Regions from separate parts of the Homo sapiens genome. Here all the other regions are linked to region 2. Evidence: promoter capture Hi-C in 16 types of primary human blood cells and fetal thymus (Javierre and others, 2016). All regions are on one chromosome and are shown on one strand. The core of a region is centred on a gene start or on the middle of the fragment in contact, and the rest is flanking DNA. Distances in the headings are between cores, read along the strand shown.

Evidence for each region. Contacts are between HindIII fragments. The CHiCAGO score rates a contact against its expected background, and 5 or more counts as called.
Region 1: a fragment that was not itself captured here is called in contact with the fragment with the promoter of TRIM23 in region 2 in 2 of 17 cell types (naive CD8 T cells and non-activated CD4 T cells); the score reaches 5.8 in naive CD8 T cells.
Region 3: a contact is called between the fragment with the promoter of ANKRA2 here and the fragment with the promoter of TRIM23 in region 2, in 1 of 17 cell types (total CD4 T cells). The highest score is 5.3, in total CD4 T cells.
Region 4: the fragment with the promoter of BDP1 here is called in contact with the fragment with the promoter of TRIM23 in region 2 in 2 of 17 cell types (total CD4 T cells and non-activated CD4 T cells); the score reaches 14.5 in total CD4 T cells.

The regions. Positions count from the first base shown.
Region 1 is chr5:71,588,874-71,594,412 of GRCh38, forward strand. It overlaps MCCC2 (methylcrotonyl-CoA carboxylase subunit 2), which reads left to right. Exons shown (of 17, transcript NM_022132.5): 2 at 4,053-4,119. Among named protein-coding and RNA genes, the nearest start is that of MCCC2, 4.3 kb to the left of the region's middle. The HindIII fragment of the contact is 540 bases long and covers 3,666-4,205 here.
Region 2 is chr5:65,621,824-65,626,864 of GRCh38, forward strand. TRIM23 (tripartite motif containing 23) reads right to left here and starts at 2,510. Exons shown (of 11, transcript NM_001656.4): 1 at 2,371-2,510. The coding sequence starts at 2,451. It overlaps TRAPPC13 (trafficking protein particle complex subunit 13), which reads left to right and starts at 3,204. Exons shown (of 13, transcript NM_024941.4): 1 at 3,204-3,283. The coding sequence starts at 3,238. SHLD3 (shieldin complex subunit 3) reads left to right here and starts at 3,204. Exons shown (of 2, transcript NM_001365341.2): 1 at 3,204-3,283. RefSeq lists enhancers at 2,180-2,509, 2,640-2,719. The HindIII fragment of the contact is 4,327 bases long and covers 1-4,259 here.
Region 3 is chr5:73,564,177-73,569,368 of GRCh38, forward strand. It overlaps ANKRA2 (ankyrin repeat family A member 2), which reads right to left and starts at 1,463. Exons shown (of 9, transcript NM_023039.5): 1 at 956-1,463. UTP15 (UTP15 small subunit processome component) reads left to right here and starts at 1,567. Exons shown (of 13, transcript NM_032175.4): 1 at 1,567-1,736; 2 at 3,086-3,258; 3 at 4,059-4,151; 4 at 4,244-4,428. The coding sequence starts at 3,169. RefSeq lists enhancers at 723-1,277, 857-906, 927-1,136, 1,147-1,706, 1,278-1,832. The HindIII fragment of the contact is 2,502 bases long and covers 1-1,878 here.
Region 4 is chr5:71,451,561-71,456,985 of GRCh38, forward strand. BDP1 (BDP1 general transcription factor IIIB subunit) reads left to right here and starts at 4,091. Exons shown (of 39, transcript NM_018429.3): 1 at 4,091-4,529. The coding sequence starts at 4,318. RefSeq lists enhancers at 3,026-3,952, 3,953-4,878. The HindIII fragment of the contact is 8,261 bases long and covers 1-5,425 here.

The sequences.
Region 1 (5,539 bases), core at 2,686-5,185, 6.0 Mb after region 2:
TGGGGCCAGATAGAGGAGGATCTTCCATGCAAAAGCCACATTTAGATTCCATTTGGCAGGTTGTCCATTAAAATATTTAAGTAGATAAGTGGCATGATCCTATGGATATGGTAGAATCATCAGTGTGGTGGCAATGTGGAGGATGGATTGATATAGGGAAAAGACTAGACCTAGGTGACAGTGGAGAGTTGAGTCTTGAGATGAAGGAGTCAAAGTTAGAGTTGTATGTAGGAGGGGGGCATAAATACCTGAGGAGCAAAGATTATAGAGTTAATAACTGAGTGGAAGGGGAAAATGGATGACTTTGGAGTTTCCAACTGGGCAGAATATTTAGTTAGGTGGAACTGCCATTAATACAAAGAAGGCTTTGGTGATGGGTTTTGTATGAATCACCTTTTGCTAGGTTGCGCTTTGTGTAACAAATAATCAAAAAATCTCAGTAACTCACAACAGTAAATATTAGTCTCTCACTTGATTTTGTTTTGTTTCTTAATCTCTCACTCGTGTTGGTGGCCTTTGGTTAGCTGCTGCTGTGACTGTTCCACTGCAGGGTAGGTTCAGGTCTGCTCCATGTGTCTTCCCATTCCTGGACTGAGGCTGAAGAGCAGCCCTGAATTAAACATGCCCTTCTCATGGCCGAAGGCACAGGAGCAAGAGGCTGAACACAAATTGGATTTAAAATCCTTGCTGGCATGTGATGAAATTAATGTGTGCTCACATTAGACAAAGCAAGTCCATGAGGGTGGGGGAGAATGGGATGAATGATCCAGTTTAGCTGTGTTTCCTGATTACAAATAAAAGCAACTATAATAAGTAATAATAATGGCAGGAATTTTATAGTGTACCCACCATTTTTCTAAAGGCTTTATGTGGTTTTACTCATGTATTTATCATAATGATCCTGTGCAGTAGGTACAATTGTTATTTCTGTTTTATAGATGGGAAAACTGTGGTATATAGGGTCCAAGAAATTTGTCTGAGATAACACAGAGCCTGAATTTGAAGCCAGGTGGTCTGGCTCATAACTCTTGAGTCCAGGGTCTTAACTGTTGCTCTATAATGCTTCTCACTCACCCAGCTCTACCTAGGTGGGTTCTATGGTTGAAAAGATGGGGTGGGAAACTTGTCAGTGGCTCAGCTCCAATTCATTATGACTGTCAGGCACTAACCTCTGTGGTTGCTCAGCTTCACAAGAAAATTACTAGGTTGTAGAATGTTGTTTCGCAGGTGATTAAAACACACACACACACACACACAAACACAAACACCTGGCGTCCTGAGAGATCAAGATTTGCCAAATGCAGTATCAGTAAGTAGGGAAACTGAAAGTTGAACTTGGTTTTGCCACTAAACTACACTGCCTCTTGGTTAGTGAGTCTCATCCTAAGGAGGCTAGGTTGGTTGATAAAGGATTGCCTGGGAGGTGAACTGTAGCCAGTACTGGCTCTTCTGTGATTTAAGTCTGATGGGCTGAGCTTGGCACAGATGTTGCCCAGTCTGTAGAGGCAAATGTCAGCTTCAGTGGGTCAGTGCTTTTCTTCTTTGACCCACTGGTTGCTTAAAAGTACGTTGTTTAATTTCCATATATTTGTGAATTTTCCAGTCATCCTTCTGCCATTGATTTCTAGTTTCATTCCATTGTGATTGAAAGGATACTTTTGGGCCAGGCATGGTGGCTCAGGCCTGTAATCCTAGCGCTTTGGGAGGCCGAGGCTGGTGGATCACCTGAGGTCAGGAGTTCTAGACCAGCCTGGCCAACATGGTGAAACCCTGTCTCCACTAAAAATAAAAAAATTACCTGGGCATGGTGGCGCACGCCTGTAATCCCAGCTACTTGGGAGTGTGAGGCAGGAGAGTCGCTTGAACCCGGGAGGCGGAGGTTGCAGTGAGCTGAGACTGTGCTACTGCACTCCAGCCTGGGCGACACGGCCAGACTCCGTCTCAAAAAAAAAAAAAAGGATACTTTGTATGATTTCAGTCTTTTAAAATTTATTAAGATTTGTTTTGTGGCCTGACATGTAGTCTATCTTGGAGAATGTTGCCTGTGCACTTGAGAAAAGTTACATACTTTTTTCTGCTGTTGTAGGGTGACAAGTTCTGTATATTGTGTTAGCTCCAACTGGTTCTTTCCCTAATACCATGCTGCTTCCTTGTTTTTTATTTTCTGGATTTTGCAGAGCAAGAGAATGTAGCAGAAATCATGACCCTCAGAGCTCTTGGAGCTGTAGAAAATAGGAAATAATGGAGATATACTGTAGACTGAATATTCATCTAAGTTTGAACAGTTAGGAAGTTGCTTAGTGTTCTGTCAAACAGAAGGAACTAAATAACTAGAGATGCTAATCACATGGGGAGCAAAATGTATTAGTGGGCCAAGTCTGAATTTCAAAGATAATTAGCTAGTTAAGTATTGTTCTAAAGTAATATGCTGACCAAACAAAATTTAAAAATACAGAAGGGTGAAAAGTTAGTCCCTCTACCTCTTTTCTACTTCTCACTGTCAATATTTCCTTGTGTATTACTTAATTTGTGTATATATGCCAGCATAGAGTTTTGTTCTGTTTTTTTTTTTTTTTTTTTGAGATGGAGTTTTGCTCTTGTTGCCCAGGCTGGAGTGCAATGATGCAATCTTGGCTCACTGCAACCTCCGCCTCCCGGGTTCGAGGGATTCTCCTGCCTCAGCCTCCCGAGTAGCTGGGATTACAGGCAAGCACCACCTTGCCTGGCTAATTTTGTATTTTTTAGTAGAGACGAGTTTTCTCCATGTTGGTCAGGCTGGTCTCGAACTCCCGACCGTAGGTGATCTGCCCGCCTCGGCCTCCCAAAGTGCTGAGATTACAGGCGTGAGCCACCACGGCTGGCCGAGTTTTGTTCTTTTTACTAATTTATTTATTTATTTGAAACAGTCTTGCTCTGTCACCCAGGCTGGAGTACAATGGCACGATCCTAGTTCACTGCAGCTTCAAACTCCTGGGCTCAAGAGATCCTTCCACCTTAGTTGGTCAAGTCGCTGGGACACACCACCATGCCCAGATAATTTTTAAATTTTTATTCTTTTTATTTTTATTCTTTTTGTAAAGATGGAAGTCTCCCTATGTTACTCAGGCTGGTCTCAAACTCCTGGGCTTAAGCGATGCTCCTGCCTCCGCCTTCCAAAGCTCTGGGATAACAGACATAAGCCACCACACTCAGCCTGTTCTTTTTAAAACATAAAATAGGATCCTTGGCCAGGTGCGGTGGCTCATGCCTGTAATCCCAGCACTTTGGGAGGCCGAGATGGGCAAATCACTTGAGGTAAGGAGTTTGAGATCAGCCTGGCCAACATGGCGAAACCCGGTCTCTATTAAAAATACAATAATTAGCTGGGCATGGTGGCACACACCTGTAGTCCCAGCTACTTAGGAGGCTGAGGCAGGAGAATCGCTTGATCTCGGGAGGCGGAGGTTGCAGTGAGCCGAGATTGCACCATTGCACTCCAGCCGGGGCAACAAAGGGAGACTCTGTCCCAAAAAATAAAAATACAAAATTAAAAATAAAAATAAGATCCTTTTTCTCCCTCTGGGATTTGTTTTTAAGTGTACTTTGTCAGTAAGCAAGCATTGGTTGGAATCTCAGATAGTGACTGATGGGACAGGAAAAATAAGATGGTATTCTAACCTTCAAAAAGCTTATATTCCTTAAAATAGGAAAACAAATAGAGATCAGTTTAAGTTCAGAAGGTGTTTAAGGAAGAAAGATGTTAAATTGAGTAGGAGTGGCCAGAAGTAGAGTTGAAGATGAGATAAAACATGAATTAGGCTTACAGAGGAGTAAGATATGGAGAGATGGACAAGTGGGGTGGTGAAGAAGAGCTTGAACAAGACAGGCAGGGGTGAATCTTTTCCATACGATCCAGTGGCCCAGCGTGGCTGCCACAGATGGGGTGGCCCAGTGTGGCGGCCACACAGAGTTGGCACAGACCACTGTTTTTTTTTTTTTTTTGACCTTTATTTTGGTAAAAAGGAATTGCTTTCTAATATTTCTCTCCCCTGTCTCCTCTATTTCTGTTTTAGGAGAACTACAAGCAGATGAAAGCACTAGTAAATCAGCTCCATGAACGAGTGGAGCATATAAAACTAGGTAAACACAGCATTTATTCCACAGCTTATGCCTTTACTTAAGATGTCCTAAAATAGTTATTGCTTTTAGGAAAAATACTGGAATTAAGCTTTTGATATTTTTTTTTTTTTTTTGAGATGGAGTCTTGCTCTCTTGCCCAGGCTGGAGTGCAGTGGCGCCATCTCAGCTCACTGCAACCTCCGCCTCCTGGGTTCAAGCCATTCTCCTGCCTCAGCCTCCCAAGTTGTTGGGATTACAGGTGCCTGCCTCCATGCCTGTCTAATTTTTGTATTTTTTAAATAGAGACAAGGTTTCACCATGTTGGCCAGGCTGGTCTTGAACTACTGATGTCAAGTGATCCATCTGCCTTGGCCTCCCAAAGTGCTGCAATTATAGGCGTGAGCCACTACTCCTGGCTGAGCTTTTGACTCTTAAGACTATGCATTTGTTGGTATGCAGGCATTTAATTTTATTTTTCCTATTACTTGGCCAGTTTTTCTCTTCATAGAGTACTACCACTTTTGGGGGGAAAAGTAAAGATTCAAATTCATAAATTTTATGAATAAATAATTTATTTTTAATTTTTATTAATTTTTTTTTTAAGAGATGGGTTCTTGCTCTATTGCCAGGCTGGACTGAACCCCTGGCTCAAGCGATCCTCTCATCTTGGCCTCCCAAAGTGCTGGGATTACAGGTATGAGCCACCACACCTGGCCAGTGATTTCTTAGTAGGCATTTAATATTTCCTCCCTAAGTGCTGAATCTCAGATGGAAAGCATTCTTCATATTTGATAGACTGTTTCAGATAACTTTTATCAACAAGTATATAATACTTAAAATTGTATATAATACTTTTAATGTAAAATTTTACATTTAGGTTAGAGTAGTTTAAATACTGGATCTCAGGAGTATAAAAATAGTGAAGAAGACTGGATTTGGAAAGTATGGTCTAGAATTGCTTATTTACTAGTTTATTTAGAGACAGGGTCTCCTCACTCTGTTGCTCGGGCTGGACTCGAAGTCGGGAGCTCAAGTGATCTTCTTGCCTCAGCCTCCCAAGTAGCTGAGACTGTACCTGTGCCCCTGTACGCAGCTATGGAATTCATACTTTTGAAGCCATTTTAGATCAAGGTGTTGTCTCCAGAAAAAGAATTCAAACTCTTGCTGAAATGAAAGTGTTTTGTTAGGGGTGATAACTCAATTGTTATGCCCATTTTGAGAGTTTGATTTGGTGAACTCACTGTCCCCCTTAGACATTAAGATGGTGGGTTTTGGGGCCAGGCACAGTGGCTCACGCCTGTAATCCCAGCACTTTGGGAGGCCGAGGTGGGCGGATCACATGAAGTCAGGAGTTCGAGACCAGACTGAGCAACATGGTGAAACCCTGTCTCTACTAAAAATACAAAATTAGCTGGGTGTGGTGGCGCATGCTTGTAATCCC
Region 2 (5,041 bases), core at 1,260-3,759:
TTATTATTATTATTTTTTTTTTGAGAAAGGGTCTCACTCTGTCAGCCAGGCTGGAGAGTAGTGGCCTGAGCATGGTTCACTGCAGCCTTGACCTCCCAAGCTCAGACAATCCTCCTGCCTCAGACTCCCAAGTAGCTGGTACCACAGGCATGTGCCACTACGCCTGGCTAATTTTTTTTTATTATTATTTGTAGAGATAGGATCTCACCATGTTGCCCAGGCTGGTCTCAAACTCTGGGGCTCAAGCAATCCTCCCACCTCAGCCTCCCAAAGTGCTGAGATTAAAGGTGTGAAACTTTCTGTGATACATTTTTAAATGTCAGTTATTTCACAATATCAGATTTTTTATCTTTTATTTTTCAGATGGAGTCTCACTCTGTCACCCAGGCTGGAATGCAGTGGCACAAACTCAGCTCACTGCAACCTCCGCCTCCTGGGTTCAAGTGATTCTCCTACCTCAGCCTCCTGAGTAACTGGGATTAACAGGCCCACACCACAATGCCTGGCTACGTTTTGTATTATTAGTAGAGACGGGGTTTCGCCATGTTGGCCAGGCTAGTCTCAAACTCCTGACCTCAAGTGATCCGCCCACTTTGGCCTCCCAAAGTGCTTCCCAGGCACTTTGTGCTTTACAGGCGTGTGCCACCGCGCCTAGCCACAATATCAGATTTTTATGTTACTGTTTTCTCTAATGATAAAAGCCATGTCATTATCAACTTGTTCACAAGCAAAAGGCCATTTTACACAGTATTAGCATTATATACTTCAACTTTTACCTTCCAATAAATACTTCTTGCTTTCATCTATAGAAATGACAGTGAGATTTTTTTAGTTTATGCTACTATACCTACTACAAATTATGGCATGAAGATTTTGTCAGAAAGGACTATTTCATTGCACAGTTCAGGAATATTTTACATGTTAAGATGAAAATGAACAAGGTGAGCCTCCAATGTATCAAATTCTGTGCTGTAAGAAACTGGAGTTACATCAGGCTTTGGTACACTTTTGAGACTGTAAGGCAAACAGGGTAACAAAAAAATAGATACTGCAATGATACCCATTCCAATTATGAAATAAAACTTAAACTTCAAGTTAATTCACAAACTGCTCTTCAAGTATTCTCTACTTAGCAAAAGCACAATTCAATAAATAAAATCTCAGTCACACAACATGCCTAATAATGAGGGCTCCTTTGCATATCAGATATGCCGTGTACCTGTAGAATAACTTCATTAGTACCTAAAGGTCATCTGAATCAACAACCACCAATATTCACTGATACTAAATTGTGGGAAGAAATGTCTCATTTGCTGTCATATAAAACCAACATTACCTGAATAATCATAGGTGTCTACTTTTCAAGATGTGAAAAAAACTTCATATATTACCTTGATCAGTAATTCATAACCCTGGTTGCACATTAAAATAACTTCTGGTAATTCCTAAAATATACTGATGTCAACCTCATCAGAACTGGAGGAGGAGTGCATCAGTAGTGTACTAAAACTCCTCAGTGATCCTAATATGTAGCCAGGAATGAGAATTATCAATCTCTTAGATTAGAGATGCTCCTGAAGGTTACTCTATAAACCAATGGGATCAGTTCTCCCCTCCATATCTTTCCGTGCACAACAGTGGAAGGGAAAAATGAGTGCCACATATTTCAAATGATTTTTTAGCAAATTGATTCTGGAGCATGTATACATGGTAGAATCTCAAACTTCAAGCATAAGAAAATTCATAAACTCTATCGTTAATGCCCAGCTATGACGATGCTGCAGACTTGTGCAAAGAGTTAATAGACTGTACTACTAACAGGGGAGGGGGCAGCTCACCCAATAACAGATGTCTGATTACAGACGCAGTACAAGAGCGAAAAGTACAGACTTTAAAGCCGGTCAACCCGGGGCTCTGCCACACACTGTTTACCTAAACCTGGGTTTCCTCCCTGTAAAATGGGAATTCACATCTACTTCATAAGTAGATATTAACGAGCTAAAACACCTAACTTAGTACGTAGTTACGATGATGATGACTCAATTTATAATACTAAGCTAATTAATGTCTGTTGAGTTTAACTAAAAGCAGAGGACCTGGAGAAAAGACCGGTCTAGGTCACTGCCACTGGCCCGCAAGCTCCTTTTCACAAATGTCCCGATGATGACATGTCATGAGCAGAAGACCAGGCAATTTCAGGCCATAGGAGAGAAAGGATGCAGAGGACAGGACGAGACTTGTAATGCCAAAAGGGGCCCAGAGGCCGCGCATCCCACCTATCGAAGCCTGGGCCGCGGCGATGCCGCCAGGTCTCCAGGATGAACCGAAGGGAGGCCGATGGTGGAGAATAGAGCACGCAAGGTCCCTCACCTTCACTACAGCTGTCCCCCGGCTGCCCTGCCGGCCACTGTCTACTCCCGCTCCGAGCTTGTTTACAACCAGGGTAGCCATCCTCGCAGGGGAAGCGCCACAGAAACAGCCTTCAGAGTCCTCAACTGAGAGGCGGGGTTGAGCCACCTACCCAGAGGCCTCTGCGCACGCCACCGGCGCACAGGCGCAGTAGGACACTGGGCGCCGCTTAGCCGACTCTTACTCCTCCTCCCCGCAATCGTCGGGTGGTTAGTTGCACAGCCTCGCGCATGGGCACTTTTGTTATTTTTCATTATGTAGTCTGCAGCTGCTGGAGGAAAGACAAGAAAAAAAAAGAAGGGACAAAACGATTAAAGTTTTGGGGTGAAAACTCCAGATCCTTTAATGATTTTTCCTCTCGAATCCAAACCAGCCAGGGCGTGAACTGAGGGCGGTGAGGGGGTACGGGCATCTCCCTGCATGCAACGCGGTTTTTGTATAAACTACAAATCCCAGCATGCCACTCTCTCTCTCTCTCTTTTTTTTTTTTTTTTTTTTTTTTAAAAAAAAAACTCCGGCAACGTTGGCCTTTGGGAGGCCGCGTATTGTTACCTAGGGGTGGTTTCTTTTCCTGCAGTCGCGATGTGTGATTGCAGATGGAAAACAAAGTATTTTATGCCTACGTTTCTAAGATAGAAGAAATGGACTTGTTGAAAAGAAGCCAGTTTGTAAAGGACACAGTAGGAGAATTTAAGGTACCACCACCAGAGAGAGGTTGAGAGTGCGTTTGACTTTTGGTTTTGCCAAACGCGAGGTTTTCCGTTTCCTTCCGGGGCAAGTTGAACCTGTCCAGCCCCCGTAGGCTGTGGGTCAAAAGTGCCGGTCAAAATGGAAGTGAATCCCCCTAAACAGGAGCACCTGCTGGCGCTAAAAGGTAAACTTTTGCGAACCTGATTCCCCCTTTTCTGTTTCCTTGCATTCCCTACTTATCGAAGCCTTTGCCATGTAGGCCTCATCCTTCTTAAACACTCAGTGCTCGCCCTCCTGCTCTGTCCTTTGCCGCCAAGCGGGAGGAAGCGATTTCTCCTGGATGCTTTTTAGGTTTATGGGCCCCTTTCTAGAACGAAATAGATACCTGGTAAATCGTTCTTTCTGATCTGTGCTGCTTCAGTCACGAGATTTTAGCCGCAGAAGCTGACGTCCCGCTCCTACCGTGGAGATCTCTGTGAATTACAGCGGGCATCCAAAGTGCTTTTTCCTTCTGTCTCTTGTTTCTTCCTGTGGCACTGACGAAGTTAATCAGGCTTCAGCTTCCCCTGTAAAATTAGTATTGCATGACAGTAGTGCAGAGAATTTAGCAATACATAGTAATACAACATATAACTTAGATTTATTCAAAACAAACTGCAGTTTACTTCAAATCACTGTGTATGTGGGAAATATGTCCGAGATCTAATGTCAACTCTCATTTTTTGTACACAGCCATTTTGAGTAAGTTTGGTGATTTAATTAGATCATTATTTAGGAAAAAACAGCAGCACTTTTTTTTTTAGGACAATTTTTTTAATGCCTATTTTCTGGAAACCTTTTATTTGAAATCTTTTCAGCTTTATTTTATTTGTTTTTTACTACAACAAATGCGCTTTTTGTTTCTTGGATGCCTTAATATATGGTTAACAATGACTTCTTGAATGAGCTGAGGAAATGCTCAATAAACATTCGGGTTCAATTGAATTGCGCTTACTTTACTTATGGCATCCATTTTGAGGAACGCCTTATCCTTCCCATTATGATGTAGTCATCAGACTTTCTAGAAGCTCATCAGTCTCATATAATGATGCCTGTGTTAGCGAGATTGTCTCTTACTGTGGAACTTTGTAATGTTTAGTGATACAGTGATGGGACCTGTAAGCTTAACCTGAGCAAATGATCTAGACTAAAATGGAGATTAAAATGGATTGTTACTCGTGGAGAAGAGGGAAAAGAAGAAAAGCAACTAATTGTCGTGTTCTTTATCTCACAATCTCACTTCAAGTATGTGGAGTAAATATTAATTCTCAGAGTTTAAGTAACTTTTCCAAGATCACATAGCTAGTGATTGAGGCAGTGTTTCAACGCAAGGCCTGCCTCTCTTTCCAAGAGTCCGTGTTGCCTCCTAAAGAATGAAGCAGCATTCTCAGAGATAATTCCTCTACCAGCTACTCCGATGGGAATTTGGAACAGTTCTATTAACTGCTACGTGTGATTTATACAAATTAGAAGCTATTAAAAACAGTTAAATTGCAGCCGCGCGTGGTGGCTCACCCCTGTAATCCCAGCAGTTTGGGAGGCCAAGGCGGGTGATCACAAGGTCAAGAGATCAAGACCATCCTGGCTAACATAGTGAAACCCCGTCTCTATAAAAATACAAAAAGTTAGCCAGGCGTGGTGGCGGGCGCCTGTAGTCCCAGTTACTCAGGAGGCTGAGGCAGGAGAATGGCGTGAACCCGGGAGGCGGAGCTTGCAGTGATCCGAGATCACGCCACTGCACGCCATCCTAGGCAACAGAGCGAGACTCCATCTCAAAAAACAAACAAACAAAAAGTTAAATTCCAGTGATACAGAGACTGCCACTGGGAATTTTTAGTTTTCTGTTATTCTTTTTTTTCCAAAACCAAGGATACCTAAGAAAGAATATTTAAGCAGCCTAAGC
Region 3 (5,192 bases), core at 213-2,712, 7.9 Mb after region 2:
GAAAATTAGTTCAGTGATTCAAAGGGAGATGGATGTGCAATGCATTAGTCCATGCGTCTTAAAAGGGACTGGACAATGTGAACTGTGTTTCCTGAGGGAAGAACCATCTCCCCCTTTCTCCTATCCAGCGGTTGGCTAAGTGCAACTCCCCTAAGCTCTCTGAGCACCCTGCATGTATCTGTATTTTAGCATTCACCATCCTTTTGACAATTTCCATTTAAATAACAGCTAAATTGAAAACTCCCCTAGGATGGGGACCACTCTTACTAATTTTTGCACACAGAACAGTACTTGGTCCTACCAGGTGCTCCATAAATGTTTTCTGATCTTAACTTTAACAATTTTTTCCATATTCTTTTCTATTTCTAACATTTGCTGATTAGACCTGGCTTTCCACTCCCAACATCGCTACTAACTAGCTGGCCACTCCTGGACAAATAAATAATACAAGTTTTCTGAAATTCATCTATTATAAAAAGGTGTTGAAATAGGCCTTTCTAATATTCTTTCCAGCTCTAAACAGCTTCCATGTTACAAATCAGGGTTTATAGATGGAATTACAGGTCTTCGAGAGGAGAATAGCAAATGTGCTTAGGCGAAGGGGGTGGGTGGAAAATGAACGCTTATCTTGGCACAGCAGTTTAACGAGAGGAGAAGCAAAGTTGATTGGTAGGCCAAAATTTTGAAGAACAGGAGAGGGAGGCGGGGGTGAGGGGAGTGGGGTAACAGGACTTAGAAGAGGTGGTGGTGAGAAAAAGGGGGTAAGGCAATCGATAGCTAGGTTCACCTCGATCTGTCAGAGCCCAGGGATGAAGGGATAGAGAGTCTACGGAGATAAAGTGGGCAGCTATGCTAGTTCCTGTGGATGCTAATAACAGGAGCCCCTCGTTTCTTCCTGATCCTGGAATTATTCTACAAGGAGAGGAAGGTGCTATGAAAATAAATGATGCCTCACAGGCGACAGGTGTCCCAGCGTCCCGAGACAGGAGCCCGCTGTCTCCCGCTGGAGGGGAGACTCTTGCAGGAAAGAAAGTCCGTTCTGTCGCCACCGGCCAGCTGTGCCCGAAAAGTCCCAGGAAGAAACTCTCGCTCATCCGCGGCGAGCGGATCCCGGGCACAGGGGCTGGAGGCCGACCCGGTGAGAGTGCAAGGTCTCGCGACCACCGACGACAGCAGACAGCGAGTCGGGCCTTCCCATCTGAGGCCAGCTTCAGTACAGGCCTCCAAGCCCGGGCTTGTTTTGGCCGCGACGTCACTTCCGATTTCTTCTTTCGCCTTCTGGCTAAAAAACGTTCCGCAGCAATGCAGCTGAAACTTTCGGGTTTTCTTTTTTTTGTCCCTCTCTCCTTTTTTTTAATATTTTTGTTTTTGCCGCCTTTACGCTCCGAGGCCCATCCTGCCGGAGTACTACACAGACAGGGTCATTTCAGTTGACGGTTCTGGGTCACCAGAGCAGAGGAAGCCCCAATTTCGCCCTCCGGTCACACCTCCTACTCCAGATCGCCCCGCCCACCTGACCCGCCTCTGCGCCGCCGGGCTGCGTGAGTCTCATGAGCGTGCTCTGGTACGTCATCTTCGCGCGACGTTCGGTTCGCTGTGTGTGTCGCCGGCTCCTTGAGGGTCCATGTGATTTTTACGCCAGTGCTGCTGAACTGTGCAGGGTAGGGAGCTGGCACAGTCCGATTAATTGTCCTTGGGTCGAGGTGTCTCGTCGGACCCTTTGGGGCTCAGTGGAGGTAGGTGAAGGCGGCTCCCATTGAGGGAAGCCCACACTCACACCCGGCCTTCCTGTGTTAATCTGGCATGCTCTTCTGGGGCTTCCCAGGCTATATAGGAGAGTGGCCAAATTCTTTAACCGGCTCAAGTTCCCCTCAATTAAGCTTCGACCTAGGTTCTTCTCTGCGATTACACCCTTTCCTGTCCACCGTTGTTAGTTCCCGGAGTAATCAGCAACTCTCCAAGGCAATGGACACATTTCCATCTTTGCCTTTGCTTACGAGGCTCCCTCAGGTGAAGTGAACCTAATGGAGTTTTAAAATATTTGGGAGATAAAATCAGCAGATCTTGTTAACTATTTGGATGTTAGGAGTGAGGAAGAAAAGGACACGTCAAGGCTGAGTCTAGGTTAATATCTGGTGCCAGTCACCAGCCAAAATGGAGTATATTGGAGTAAGCAAAGGCACAGACCATGTCTTTATTTCATTCACCATTATAGCCCCAGTGCCTAGAGCAGTGTCCTGCACATTGGTAGGTACTTTAATGAACAGAAGAGTGTTCCCAAAGACCAGTGAAATACAATCATTGGTCATTGTATTTCATTAAAGCACCTTTTAAATATATGTTACACCTATTTATCGTGGTGTTACTAATGTAAAGTTTTCAGGCTTTTTGGAATAGATGATGAGCAGCACCTCTGGAATCATTTACCTGATAACATTGAATCTCTTTTGCAATTGAGTCGTTCTGGAAAAATGTTTTGGCTTGATTGCATGTTATTTAAAAGTTTTATCCTATTCTGCCACTTTAGTGTTGAATTTAATTTCAGGACTGCTTTATTACAGTTTTCTTTCCTACTGTTTAAACCTTTTAAAGTAAATTTAATTTTAAGCTTCTACATTAGAATATTAGCTTTGTGTTTCTTACTTCTTGGCATTTTTAGGCTTTCAGGAAATCAAATCCGTAACTATAATTGTTATAGATTAAATGTCATCTTAAACTTGGTTTCAGGAAACTTGTATTTGCAGTTTCACCTTAATATTTCCTGTTGCCAAAAAATGGACACTCAAAGCCAGCATGATCCTTTTTGGTTTGGCTACTGTAAGGCTGTGCTAGATTTATTCCTAAGTGTTGTAAAATGGTTGGCTAGGTGTGAGAACCTTTGTGTACAGCTGAATAGATGGTGCGATATGATAGCCTTCACTTTAATTATTCCTGCTTCCTATAGATTGCCTTTTCTGGGTTAGAATTAAATGGCTTATTGGTCTCTAATCTATATACTTCCACACAGACTTTTTAAAGAAAGCAGAGTGAAAATCAACTATGTGTACAAGCTTATAATATGTATATAAAATATTTTATTTTTCAGAATTAAGGCAGAGTCACTGTAATTATTTCTAATACCAATTCCAAAATAGTGACTCTTGGACAATAGTGCAATTATATGGAATTATGGCTGGTTATAAGCCTGTAGCTATTCAGACATATCCTATACTTGGTGAAAAAATCACCCAAGATACACTGTACTGGAACAACTATAAGGTGAGTGTGGGACGTAATGAGGGAGAAGGGATTTGTGTTTATGCCAATTTCTCTAGCATATGTTATACTCTGGATGCTCTAACAGAGAATTATTAACTGAAAACCATCTATCAGCAGCTTATAGTTTGGGCAGATAATTTGATATCTATTTTTTCTTGGAATTTTATGTAAAAGTCCATACTGCTTAATCAGATTAACCATACAAATGCCTAGCACAGAACAGATGATCAATCAATGCCAAATGAATTAAATTTTAAAATTTGAATCTCATATGTGTAAAGATGTTTATTGAAGTATTGCTTGTAATAGTAGAAATCTTGAAAAACCCATGTCTATTAGTAGTGGACTGGTATAGTAAATTACAGTGTGCCCTTATAATGGATGGTAAGTCTATTGCTCCTATGAAAGCTAATATGTGTTACTAAGTGAAAAGAAGCAAGATGTGGAACAGCCTACATGGTATGATTATCTTTTTGTTATTTTAAAAGTACAAGTACGTGGTTATTGTATGCTGGTGTAGACATGATAACTTTTTTTTTCTGGTAGAAATCACAGTAAACTCAATAGCTGAAGAGACAGAGTGGGGTGTGGCTTTCTAACCATATGTTTATTTCAGTGGCAACAAGAATAGTCTGGGTGATGAGATATGTACCTTTTTTGCTTTCTTTGTAATTTTATGTTAAATACAACTTAAGAAATGTTACTAAGAACAAAGAGAAACGGTCTGTAAGAAATTATGTAATGCATAAATAGGTCTTACCAGTGGTAACTCTGTTAACACACTATTATTTTTTATTAAGACCCCTGTTCAGATTAAGGAATTTGGTGCAGTTTCAAAAGTAGACTTTTCTCCTCAGCCTCCATATAATTATGCTGTCACAGCTTCCTCAAGAGTAAGTATAATATTAAATTTCTTTATTTTTCTTTTGTATAGTTTACTACTGATCTTGAGCCATCTGGTGAAATACTGTTTTTCATCTTGTAGATTCACATTTATGGCCGATACTCCCAAGAACCTATAAAAACCTTTTCTCGATTTAAAGACACAGCATACTGTGCTACTTTTCGACAAGATGGTAGATTGCTTGTGGCTGGCAGTGAAGATGGTGGAGTTCAACTTTTTGATATAAGTGGGAGGGCTCCCCTCAGGCAGTTTGAAGGCCATACAAAGTAAGAGACAGTTGGTTTCTGTGTGTTCTGGTTTTATTTTGTTGTAAGCTCTTTTTTTCTCTGGACTTTGGTTAAAAAGATAGAGATCAGTTTTATGGAGATTATTTGCCTATAGGTACTATATTTCCTGATTGTTCTAAGAGTGCTTAACTTGGGTTCCGTGGTCCAGTTTCATGGGGCTTATGAATTCCCTAGAATTGTATGTGATATTTTAGGAAATACACGTTTATCTAGGGAGCTACTCTGTAGCTTTTGGTTAACTTTAGTGGGGTCTGTGGCCCAGCTGAGATTATGAATTACTGACCTGAAGACAACCTTACAGCTGGTAATGACAGCTCTATAGGCCTGTACTGTCTTAGAGGCTCTTATGTTGAAGTCAAGTAGGAAGGTGGATTTTCTTCTTGAATTTATAGTGTTTTGCCCCTTAATAAATTAAGTGGCCATCACAATTTTATATTATAACTTTGTTTTCAGGATTGCCAATGTCCGTGCTGAAATTTGTTAAAATTTAACAGAAATTTATGTAACATGATTCTATTTAGTGGTAAATCTCTTTAGAGTTTTTTAAAGAACTTTTTGAAATTTTAAAAATTAAAGTGCCTTTGCTTCCATATTCAGCAGCTAAGTGGAATTGTTTATATACTAGAAAATATAATTTTAAGGCTATCCTTTAATTTTTTTTAACTTTACAATATAGGAGTATTTACACTTCTTAATTGGTTTGGGGGCAAACACTTGTAAGTTTTCTCTTTCTTTCATGATTT
Region 4 (5,425 bases), core at 2,841-5,340, 5.8 Mb after region 2:
CCTATATTTTAAAAACTTTTATTTTGGAAGATCTGAAATTTATACAGTACAAAAGCATTAGTAACAAGGATAACGAATCCTCAAGGAGATGCGACCAAACTTCAATTATTACCTCATAAAATCGTCTATTTTAGAGAAGGTGGAGAAAGTGAAGACTGAGGAGCTCTGGAGATGAACTGTCTGGGTTGAAAGTCCATCTCTACTAATTAGTAGCTGTGTCAACTTGGACAGTATTTCATTATGTTAAAGCGTTCTTACCTGTAAAATGGGGAGGTATGTACCTTCTTCATTAACTGAATTAACGTATGTGAAGTACTAGGTCCCCAGCATATGGTAGAACTCAATATGTTAGCTCTTACTGTCATTATTCTTTCAAATTCAGAGAGCCTCGCACACATCACTATCCTATCCCCACACCCCACCTCTCTTCCTTAATACTGCTAGCCTCTGCTTCCACTTAGTGAAGTAACTTGAAGGGAAAAGATTGACTTTCTGGCACCGTGTTTTGTTTTGGAGACAGTATCTAACTCTGTTGCCCAGACTGGAGTACACTGGCGCAATCTCCGCACACTGCAGCCTCAGCCTCCCAGGTTCAAGCGATTCTTGTGCCTCAGTCTCCCAGTAGCTGGGATTACAGGCGGCTGCCACCCTGCCCCGGCTAATTTTTGTATTTTTCGTAGAGACGGTTTTTTGCCTTGTTGGCCTGGCTGATCTTGAACTCCTGGCCTCGTGTGATCTGTCTGCCTCGGCCTCCCAAAGTGCTGGGATTTCAAGCATGAGATTTCAACCATTCCAACCTCTGGCACAGTTCTTTATAGAGATAAGGTCATCTAAAGAGGGAATGGGGTGGGATTGGAAGGTAAGTGGTAGAGTTTTTTTGTTTGTTTTGTTTTGTTTTTTAGACGGAGTCTCCCTATGTCGTCCAGGCTGGAGTGCAGTGGTGCGATCTCAGCTCACTGCAAGCTCTGCCTCCTGGGTTCACGCCATTCTCCTGCCTCAGCCTCCCAAGTAGCTGGGACTACAGGTACCCGCCACCACGCCCAGCTAGTTTTTTGTATTTTTTTTCGTAGAGATGAGGTTTCACCGTGTTAGCCAGGATGGTCTCGATCTCCTGACTTCATGATCCGCCTGTCTCGGCCTCCCAAAGTGCTGGGATTACTGGCGCAAGCCACCGCGCCCGGCCGGTGAGTAGCAGAGTTGTTTTTGTACGTGCTCTCAATTTAATCTAATTGAACATTTTTCTTTGCAGCTGAAATTTTGCAGTTCTTAAGTTGTAGGGCTACACATGATATACCCCATGTACACAAAATGTGTTGTGTGTGTCTCTCAGAGAAAAGTAGAGATTTAAAAAATTCGTATGATGCCACTAAGAATTTACTCCACAAACTTGTGTAACAAATGTCTTATGACTTTATATTTAATAATAAAATTTAATCTGATTCTGTTCCCATCCCTTTACTGGTGGGAAATTAAATCTTAGTCACTATTTACTTTCTGACCTGTAAAAACTTGGGACAATGCCCTAGTCTCTTAAGTGGAACAGAAGACCATCTGGGGAAAGGCCCTGTGTCTTCAGTTGGTATCAGAATATGCTGTTCAAAGCTGTGTAGACCTGGCAGTGGCTCCAAGATTCCTGAGACATCTTTAGCAGGGTATTCTCTCGAATTCTTGAGCTTCTTTAAATAAAGAAGATAAAACTGAGATACTGTTCCTTTTCCAGAGTATTGCAGGGAGCCCACGGAATCCACAGACCTCCTCTTTTCTCTTCCTTCCTTCCTTCCTTTCTTTCTCTCTCTCTTTTTTTTTTTTTTTTTGAGACAGGGTCTCACTTTGTCACCCAGGCTGTAGTGCTGTGGTGTGATCTTGGCTCACTGCAACTTCCGCCTCCTGGGCTCAAGCAATCCTCCAACCTCAGCCTCCTGAGTAGCTGGGATTACAGGCAGAAGCCACCATGCTCAGCTAATTTTTGTAATTTTGGTAGAGATGAGGTTTCACCATGTTGGCTAGGCTGGTCTTAAACTCCTAGGCTCAAGTGATTCGCCTGCCTCAACCTCCCAAAGTGCTGGGATTACAGGCACGAGCTGTGCCTGGCCTCCAGACCTTCATTTTCTTCATAGTCTTAGAGATATATGTTTTCTCTTCTCTGCTTTCAGTCTTGCCTTCCTACTCTCAAAAGCACTTGCCTCTTTTTTGTTCTCCCTTTAGGTGATCAATTTCTTCAGTCAGTTCAGAATTTTATTCCTTTGACCTTTTGTTATTAATGTATCACCATATTCTTGTAGGATTTTCTTTTCCTTCTAAGAAGAAAGTCAGGCCTTTGTGTTCCCATGAGTCAGGGGATTTGTATCACTGGTTCAAACATTGGCCCAATACCTCCAAGGCCAACCTCAGCTCTGGCTATTTTTCCTCTCATCATAGAGGACTTCCCTAGCCACTCTACTGCCAGCCTCCCTCCCATTACTTTCTATCACATCATCCTGTACATTTCTCTCTTTTTTTTCTTCTTATTATTAAATTTTTGTTTTAAGGACAAGGTTTCACTTTGTCACCCATGCTGGAGGGCAGTGGCACTATCATAGCTCACTGCAGCCTGGACCTCCTGCCTCAGCCTTCCAGGTAGCTGGAGCTAGAGGTGGGAGCCATCACAGCCACCGCATGTAGGTAATTTGTTTTAGGGGTCTCAATATTTTGAGCAGGTTGGTCTGGAAGTCTTGGGCTCAAGAGATCCTCCCACTTCAGTCTCCACAGTAGCTGGGATTATAGGCGTGCCTCGCCATACCCGGCATTCAACCCTTAAATTTATTTCATGACATTTGATATACTTTATTTTATTGCAATTAATTAATTAATTCATTTATTTTAAGACAGAGTCTCACTCATTCTGTTGCCTAGGCTAGAGTGCAGTGGTGCCATCTTGGCTCCCGGCAGCCTCCACCTCCAGGGTTCAAGCCATTCTCCTGTCTCAGCCTCCCATAGCTGGGATTACAGGCTTGCACCACCAGGCCTGGCTCATTTTTGTATTTTTAGTAGAGATGGAGTTTAACCATGTTGGCCAGGCTGGTCTCGAACTCCTGACCTCAAGCAATCTGCCTTGCCTTAGCCTCCTAAAATGCTGGGATTACAGGCATGAGGCACCCACGCCGGGCCTGATACATTTTAAAAATATCTTGTTCATTTCTTTTTTGTATTTTCTCCTCCCAAATCCAGAACGTCTTGTTTACTGCTACCTCCTGAAGCAGATTAAGAACACTCACAATAATTTACAAGGTTTCAACTATAATAATTTTTAAACAGGCTGGAGTGTAGTGGTACGATCTCGGGTGATACATTCATATTAAAAAGTACACAAGGAGGTTGGGCGTGGTGGCTCACGTCTGTAATCCCAGCACTTTGGGAGGCCAAATGGGTGGCTCGCTTGAGCCTAGGAGTTCAAGATCAGCCTAAGCAACATGATGAACCCCGTCTCTACTAAATATACGAGAAAAAAAAAATTAGCCGGGTGTCGTGGCGCGTGCCTGTGGTCCCAGCAACTTGGGAGGCTGTGACGGGAGGATCGCCTGAGCCCGAGAGGTGGAGGCTGCAGTGAGCCAAGATCGCGCAACTGCACACTCCAGCCTAGGCGACAGAGCAAGACCCTGTCTCAAAGGACAAAAACAAAAAAGTACACAAAGGCGTACGGTAAATGGTCTTCCTACCACGACGTGTTTTCCAGAAACACATTCCTCTCCTGGGAGGTAACTATTATCAGTTTCTTCACACCAGCATTTTTAATCTATGTCTACTCAATTTAGAATTTCTAAACCCTTCAGGATCTTCAAAAGACAAAATCGGCCAGCGATTTTAATAGTTCCAGTAAAGGTTTGAGCAGAGAAGTGGACTTTCTTCTGTTCCTCTTTTCAACTACTCCTAAGGACTCCTGGAGAAGAAAGAGCAAATATCTCTGCATCTCAATTTCTGGTCCGCAGGTAACCCAGTCTCAGTAGCTTGGTAGTTACCATGGCTCCCAGTGCTGTGCGTCTGACGTCATTCTGCGGCGCTGGCTGATGGCGCAATCAGTTGCGGCGTCCTGTGAGCGCGGGGATGCTGGGAGGAGGGTGAAATTTAGCCATCGGTGTGTGGCAGGGTCATGAAAAAGCGGCGGCGGCGGGAGAGAGGAGGAGGCGGCGGCGGGGCAGTGAAACTACGGTAGCTGCCCCCTGAGCTGGTGGTGTGGCTTTGTGGGGAGGGCGTAGTTCCTAATCCCCTTTCCGGGCAGCCGCCGGGGCTCGGGGCTGTGAGCGGCCGTGAGGCTGCCTCCCCGGGCCCCCTGCCTCCGCCATGTTCCGCAGGGCACGCCTTAGCGTGAAGCCGAATGTCAGGCCTGGTGTAGGCGCCAGGGGCTCCACAGCTTCCAATCCCCAGCGTGGACGGGAGTCTCCCAGGCCGCCGGATCCTGCCACGGACTCTGCTTCCAAGCCCGCGGAGCCCACAGATGTGCCCACAGTCGATTTCGGTGGAGCGGAGCCCCAAGAAAAGGCTCCTAGGAGCAGGTAAGAGGTTGCAGAGGGAAGAATTTTCATTTGTCCCGCCTCTCCGGGCATGTCACCTGGAAGCTGAGCAAATGAATTTTATCACAGGAGTCCGCTCTCGTTTGCAGTAAGCCTTTCAGTTGAGGCTTGATGAAACCACTCCAAACTGCAGTTTAGTTGTCTGACCTGCAGGGTGTGGCTTGTGTGGATTTTGTCACGGTCTATAGATTCTCCGAGAGGAGACCATGTCTTCAAGTGGTGGTAGGGAGAATCGGGGTATGGCAGTCCTGAAGTGAAGAATATCCACACTATTCATTTGAGAATTTAGGTCACTATAGTTTTCATCCTTCTGGAGTGCTTTGCAGGGAAGTGTTTTTGTCTTTCAATTTATAAAATATTTATTTTTTAAAGGAGAAGATAAGTATTGCTTTGGCTTTACCGATTTATGTCAGTGAGTAAGAGTTCTGGTCACTTAATTGAAGTGTGCCTCTTTAACTATGGTGACCGTGTTTCCTGAATAGAGAAGCATGGCTTTAGCGTCATGTATCATATTTGGATTCAGGACTCTTTTAGTCTACAGGTAAACTTTTCTCAGGCAGAATTTGCTCATCTGCAAAATGGGAATAATATTGCCTACTTGGAGCGTTTTGGTGCAGATTGGAGATAATTCATATTAACTACCTTGCAGGGGATATAGCAGAATAGTTGCCCGCAAAAAGTTACTAGTTTTTTAGAAAGGTGATGGAGTAAATTTAAGACATGTTAGGCTAAGATGGTCTCTGTTTCTATATATATGAGGAAATCAGTAAACAGCCTTGTTAAGTGAAGTGAGATAGTACAAATTCTGTTTATGCTGTGATAGGAAGGTGAAACATTTATTTATTTTTGGAACATCTTCCTCTATTGGCCTGAACTGG